Regions from separate parts of the Homo sapiens genome. Here region 2 is linked to region 1. The links are contacts of gene promoters, found by promoter capture Hi-C in human tissues and cell types (Jung and others, 2019). All regions are on one chromosome and are shown on one strand. Each heading gives the region's core, a stretch centred on a gene start or on the middle of the fragment in contact. The rest is flanking DNA. Distances are from core to core; before and after follow the strand shown. Region 1 holds the start of DNAJC9 (DnaJ heat shock protein family (Hsp40) member C9). Region 2 overlaps P4HA1 (prolyl 4-hydroxylase subunit alpha 1).

Evidence for each region. The method cuts DNA at HindIII sites, captures the fragments that hold promoters and counts their contacts. A contact is called where the count stands out against the background at its distance.
Region 2: a contact is called between a fragment that was not itself captured here and the fragment with the promoter of DNAJC9 in region 1, in 1 of the 25 tissues and cell types used here (liver).

The regions. Positions count from the first base shown.
Region 1 is chr10:73,245,929-73,248,693 of GRCh38, forward strand. DNAJC9 (DnaJ heat shock protein family (Hsp40) member C9) reads right to left here and starts at 1,327. Exons shown (of 5, transcript NM_015190.5): 1 at 1,082-1,327; 2 at 760-900; 3 at 1-248. The coding sequence starts at 1,261. DNAJC9-AS1 (DNAJC9 and MRPS16 antisense RNA 1) reads left to right here and starts at 1,439. Exons shown (of 4, transcript NR_038373.1): 1 at 1,439-1,455; 2 at 2,365-2,522. RefSeq lists enhancers at 769-1,968, 1,234-1,573 and a silencer at 884-1,033. The HindIII fragment of the contact is 4,197 bases long and covers 1-2,765 here.
Region 2 is chr10:73,013,503-73,016,244 of GRCh38, forward strand. It overlaps P4HA1 (prolyl 4-hydroxylase subunit alpha 1), which reads right to left. Exons shown (of 15, transcript NM_001017962.3): 12 at 722-787. Among named protein-coding and RNA genes, the nearest start is that of PLA2G12B, 60 kb to the left of the region's middle. The HindIII fragment of the contact is 5,698 bases long and covers 1-2,742 here.

The sequences.
Region 1 (2,765 bases), core at 77-2,576:
TTCCTTGCATTCATCTTTTGTTTCGATTCTTTGACAAAGGCATTATAGGATGGGACCTCTCCGGCGTCAATAGCTTGCTGAATGATATTCCTTATCCTGGGTTCCTCTGTGTACTGCACGCAAAGCACAGACTCCATGATCTGATCCATGTCACCCTTGAAGTCCAGATAGGCCTGCTTAATATCAGCCAGCTCTTCTTCCGAACCTTTGTATGTCTTTTCAAAAGCTTGAATGTCCTCTAAAGATATCTGATGATAAAGGAGATTTGCTTTAACTTTGGGAATTTTACTTTAAATAAAACGTACGTTAGTAAAACTAGAGTTGGGTGTTGAATTGCTGCAATACAACAGTTGCTTGAGTTGAAATTATTGAACCAGATTTTCTATGCCTAAGCTTCTCCGGAGTCCTCCTTTTTAAATCCAATCTTCATTAACTGCTAACTAGGGACCAGGGAAGGGAAATTTAAGTGAAATTTCCAAGAGTGAGAGGTGATCCGGAATCAGGACTTACATTTGGATATGTAAAATAAAGCGCATCCGGCAAAAAAAATAAATCGGCCCTTTTCAGTGCAACAATCACATTAACAGGAAATTTAAAGCCCGTTTCAGTAAGCGTGCGTGTATCTGTATTTCAAGGCCAAACTCAAAATTCCTAATTCCTACAAAATTAACACAAAATACAAGATCTTAGAGGCAGTCAATAAAGGTTTGTTGATTGAATGATGGTAACAGTCACAAAGAAACCTCCAGAGTCCTTTACCTTTTTAAAGAGTAGCCGCCAATACGCCTCCCAGTCTCGGTCTTGGGTGAGCACAGGAGAGTCCTCGTCCACTGTTCCCTGCTCATCGTACACTGCTCTCTGTTCTCTGTCACTGAGAACGGAATAGACTTTTCCCAGGATCTGAGGGCAAAGAGTATCCGTAAATCACCCCTGCTCCTCCCACCGAAACGGCGGCGCGAGAAATAAAGATCAGAAGGCGCCAAGCGGAGCTCAGCGCGCTCCCCCGGGGCGGGGCCCGGTAGCCAAAAGGCTAGGGGGAGGCCCGCGCAGCCGGTCGGCTTCGGGGCGGGACCCTGCATACCTGGAAGCGGCGGGTGGCGTCCTCCTTGTCGCCCTCACCCACCCGGTCCGGGTGTACCTGCAGGGACACCTTGTGGTAGCCTCGTCGGACCTCGCCGTCGGAGGCCTCGCGTCGCACGCCCAGCACCCGGTAAAGGTCGGCGGTGCCGAACACTTCCTCGCAAAGGTCCAGCAGCCCCATGCCGGGCGGAGATACGACCCCGGAGGAAGCAGCCGCTCCCAGCTGCGCCGGGTACAACCCAGGACTGCTTCTTTTTCGCGCCCAAAAAGCCCAGGGCGCCTGCGTCACAAGCACTGAAGGGGCGTGGCCACGCCGCGCATCCGCGCTTTACGGCGGCCGCAAAATGAGGTGTGGCGAGTCAGGCGCGGGCCCGGGTAAGTAACGCCGGCATGTGGAGTCACAGTCCCCGGCCGCGCGCAGGAGCTAGGTCTTCAGGGAAGTGATGTTGCTCGGGTCTCTCCTCCCCTTGCTCTGGAAATCTGGCGTCCGTCTTACCTTTTAGTGTCCAAGAACAACTTTTTCAAAAAGTTCATATATTAGCTTGAATTTACAAACTGCTGGCCTATTTTTTTAAGTAGAAAACGGCCAAACATCAGCATTCAGCAGTTACACATGGTTCAACTTAACAGATGTGTTTTTTCAAAAATGTTCTTGAAAGGAATAGGTAAAGCTGTAGACCCAAATAATTTTGCACCCCACTGGTTGGAAATGCTGGGGTACTTTCCCTCTAGCCCTGTAGGAAAAAACCCTATACTGAAACCCAAAAAGCACAAAACACGGGTCTTCCAAAAACTCTTACCTAATAGGACTTTCACCTTACACATTGGTGGAGAGAGATAACATGACCCAAGCCTCCGTCTTAATAACATAAACTGCTGAAGCAAAGGCTCTTTCTTTTAATACTCTGTGAAGTTCACAGCTGGGTTTGAACATGTTGGATCCCAGGTGGCAGCAGAGTGGGCTGGAGCAATCATCCAAGAGATGGTGAGAAACTTGGGCCTGGAGACCCAAAGCAAGGTTGAGGCTGGGGATAAAACTTTGTTAGTAGGGTAAACTCACAGAGGAAGTATGTGTATACATATCTTAAAGGATAAACAATGCTAAGTGAATACCCGAGTTGGCAGAAAATACCTTATCAAATATCCCCTCACTGATGTAGCATTTTTCAGAATCATTCTGCTCTGCCAATAAGTTTCTGCAAAGCCTCAAACTCTCCAGGATACATTAATATCTTTTAAACTTCCCAGAGTTGCCGTGATTTTCAAAGCATTTCTCTTTCCCAGATCCAAGATCAAACTCAGCTGAAGTCAGTTCCTCTCAACCTGCCCTGGCATCAAAGTCTCAAAGCAAGTGGGGGCCAACCAGCAACAACCCCAGGGGAGCTTTGACAACCACAGAATTTGAGATGGCTGGTAATCGTTCTCAGAACATAAAACACAAAGTAAGTCGGCACATTGATAGAACCTCCTCTATAAATTTCCTATATCTTAGTCACACACCAGAGTTAAGCCATCTGTCTTTGCTCATTTTTCCCTCTATGGACAACATAATATGTTGGGAAGGGCTTTCCAGGAGGGCATAACCGGGAGATGAATCTTACATCACTGGGCAAGTTTCCACCTCTAGGCCTCAGCTTCCCTATCTGTAAAACGGAGATAATCCTACCTGCCTTCATAATACCTTA
Region 2 (2,742 bases), core at 194-2,693, 230 kb before region 1:
TGTCAGATTTGGAGCAGGAACCATGAGTTGAGCCCAGTCAACCTCATAACTGTTAGAGATACATTAAGAAAATCGTTGTTATTTTAAACCACTCAGAAAGGAGAGTTTTGGAGTGCTTTATTTGGGGTAACTAGAACAAACACTACAATCAAAACTTTTTTCCATATATAAAAATATATAAACAATTTTAAAAATTGAATTATGATCATACTGTTTTAAAACTCTGAGATAGGGTTTCTGGGGGTTGTAATATGCTATTTCTTCATCTTAGTACTGAATACACCAGAAGTGTTCACTTTGTGAAAATTAAGTTATAATACTTAATTTGCGCACTCTTCTGATATACTTCAATAAAAAAATGTAATTCAGAAGTTTACTGAAATAATGTGTATGTGTATGTATAGAAATTCAAATATATAGAGATTTTTATATACACATATTATATATTACTAAACAGAGAGACTATATGTTAAAATATTAATGATTATCTGCAGGTAGTGGCACTATAAATTCTAAGTTTGTCCAGAAGTTTCTATAATGAACATCTATCTTATAGCCTGAAAAAGTTGCAAGTGCAAAATAATTCTTAACTCACTTTATTCAGTTGTAAAAATGTTAAACTAGGATGCTGAATCAGAGCTACACAGAACAAACTTAAAACATTAAAATGAATCTTGTCATCAAATCCCAACTTAATCTAAAAATTTTAGTGACGACTTACATAAAACAGCCATGTAGCAATTCTATTTCCTGTCCCCAGCTCTTTGAAAGCATCTGGCTCATCTTTCTGTGAATAAAAACACAGTAAATTCAATGGTGTAAAAATTCAGTAATACAAATACTCTAGTGGCAACTAAACATCAGTAGTAATATCCTGAAGAATATGCCAACAACAACCGCAAAAGTTTCCCTTGTAATGTCCAGTGCACTATAAACATCAGGCAATCTTTTTGTAAGATGGAGTCTTGCTATGTGGACCAGGGTGATCTTGAACTCCTGGCCTCAAGCGATCCTCCTGCCTTAGCCTCCCAAAATGCTAGGATCACAGGTGTGAGCCACTGTACCTGGCCTCAAATACGTGATGACTGAACTTGTATACTGGATACTTTAGACAAGATTACTGGATAAAAAGCAGACTTATTAGCCTAAACGACAGCCATTATCTGCAAGCTACATATTATTTTAAAAACAAATACCCACAATTTTAGCTTCTAAAAAATATGACTTGACAGCCATCTCTTAGCTATACTCCTGAAGCTTAATTTACCTTGAGACTTACTTTGAACTCACGACCTACTGAAATATTTCCTAGTATTATTTTCTTTTTTCTTTTTTTTTTTTTTTGAGACAGAGTCTTGCCCTGTCGCCCAGGCTGGAGTGCAGTGCCATGATCTCAGCTCATTGCAACCTCCACCTCCCGGGTTTAAGCAATTCTTCTGCCTCAGCCTCCCAAGTGGCTGGGGCTACAGGCGTGTACCACCATGCCTGGCTAATTTTTTTGTATTTTTAGTAGAGATGGAGTTTCACCATGTTGGCCAGACTGGTCTTGAACTCCTGACCTCAAGTGATCCACCCACCTTGGCCTCCCAAAGTGCTGGGATTACAGGCATGAGCCACCACGCCTGGCCCCTAGTATTATTTTTCTAATAATGCTAGTAAAGTGACTTTCAGCACTATAATCAAGCTAAAGAATTAATATCTAAATATTTATATCTAAATTAAAATACAATACAACCTCTTGGCATTTCTCCCAGAAAAATGAAAATGCATTTTTCACATAGAAATGTAAACACATCTTTATTTGTAATAGCCAAAAACTAAAAACTATCCAAATGTCCTTCGATGGGTGAATGGCTAAACTGTGGTATATCCGTAACATGGAATACAGGTTGAGCATACCAAAAGTCCAAAATGCAAAATGCTCTGAAGTTCAAAACTTTTAGTGCTAACATGACACAAGTGGAAAATTCCATACATAGTACTCCCTGAAGTAGCTCCCCTATCATACACACTATGCCCCAGCCAGGATGGAAACAGACAGTTCCCCATAAGGCTCCTGTATCACAAGAGATTTATTTTCAAACCCATTCTTTCTTTACTGAAGGTGTAATCCTTGTGGAGATTTAGAGTTTATGCCAGGGTCTCAAATTCAGCAGCCTACACTGTGGCAGATCCTCCTCTTACAGAGCTGTTATTCCCAAAGCTCTAGTTCCTGGAGGCACATACCTCCAGCCTCTGTGTTTTGTCCCCTCTTTAATTCTCTAAGTTTGGGATCATTGTTCAGTTTGCCTTTTGGAACACCCTTTACTTTCTTCCAGGCTTGCCAATGCATTTAAAGTATCTTAAGTGATTTTATTGGGTATCTAGGTGTTTGGTTTTTTTTTTTTAACTGGTAAAAAGGTTTCACAGAATATCTGCCACACCGTATTTCCATAAATTCCAAATAGGCTATGAATTTTTAATGTTAAAATAACAGAATTAACATGTTGACAAAGAATCTCTCCTTGACCCAACTACTCAGGCTCCTCTGAACTTTCTTCTCAAGTAGGCCCTGACTTTGGGCTTCTGGTATTTACCTCTGCATTGTCCAATTTAAGCAAGAACCCTGCTAAGTCAGGTTAGCCAGAATTCCCCGTCCTTGCCATGTGATCACCCTCAAAACCTAACTGGGTTCTTCATCTTCCACTATCCCCTGGATGATGATCACTCTTCCCTGACTTCAGCAAGAATCCTGTTAGGTCA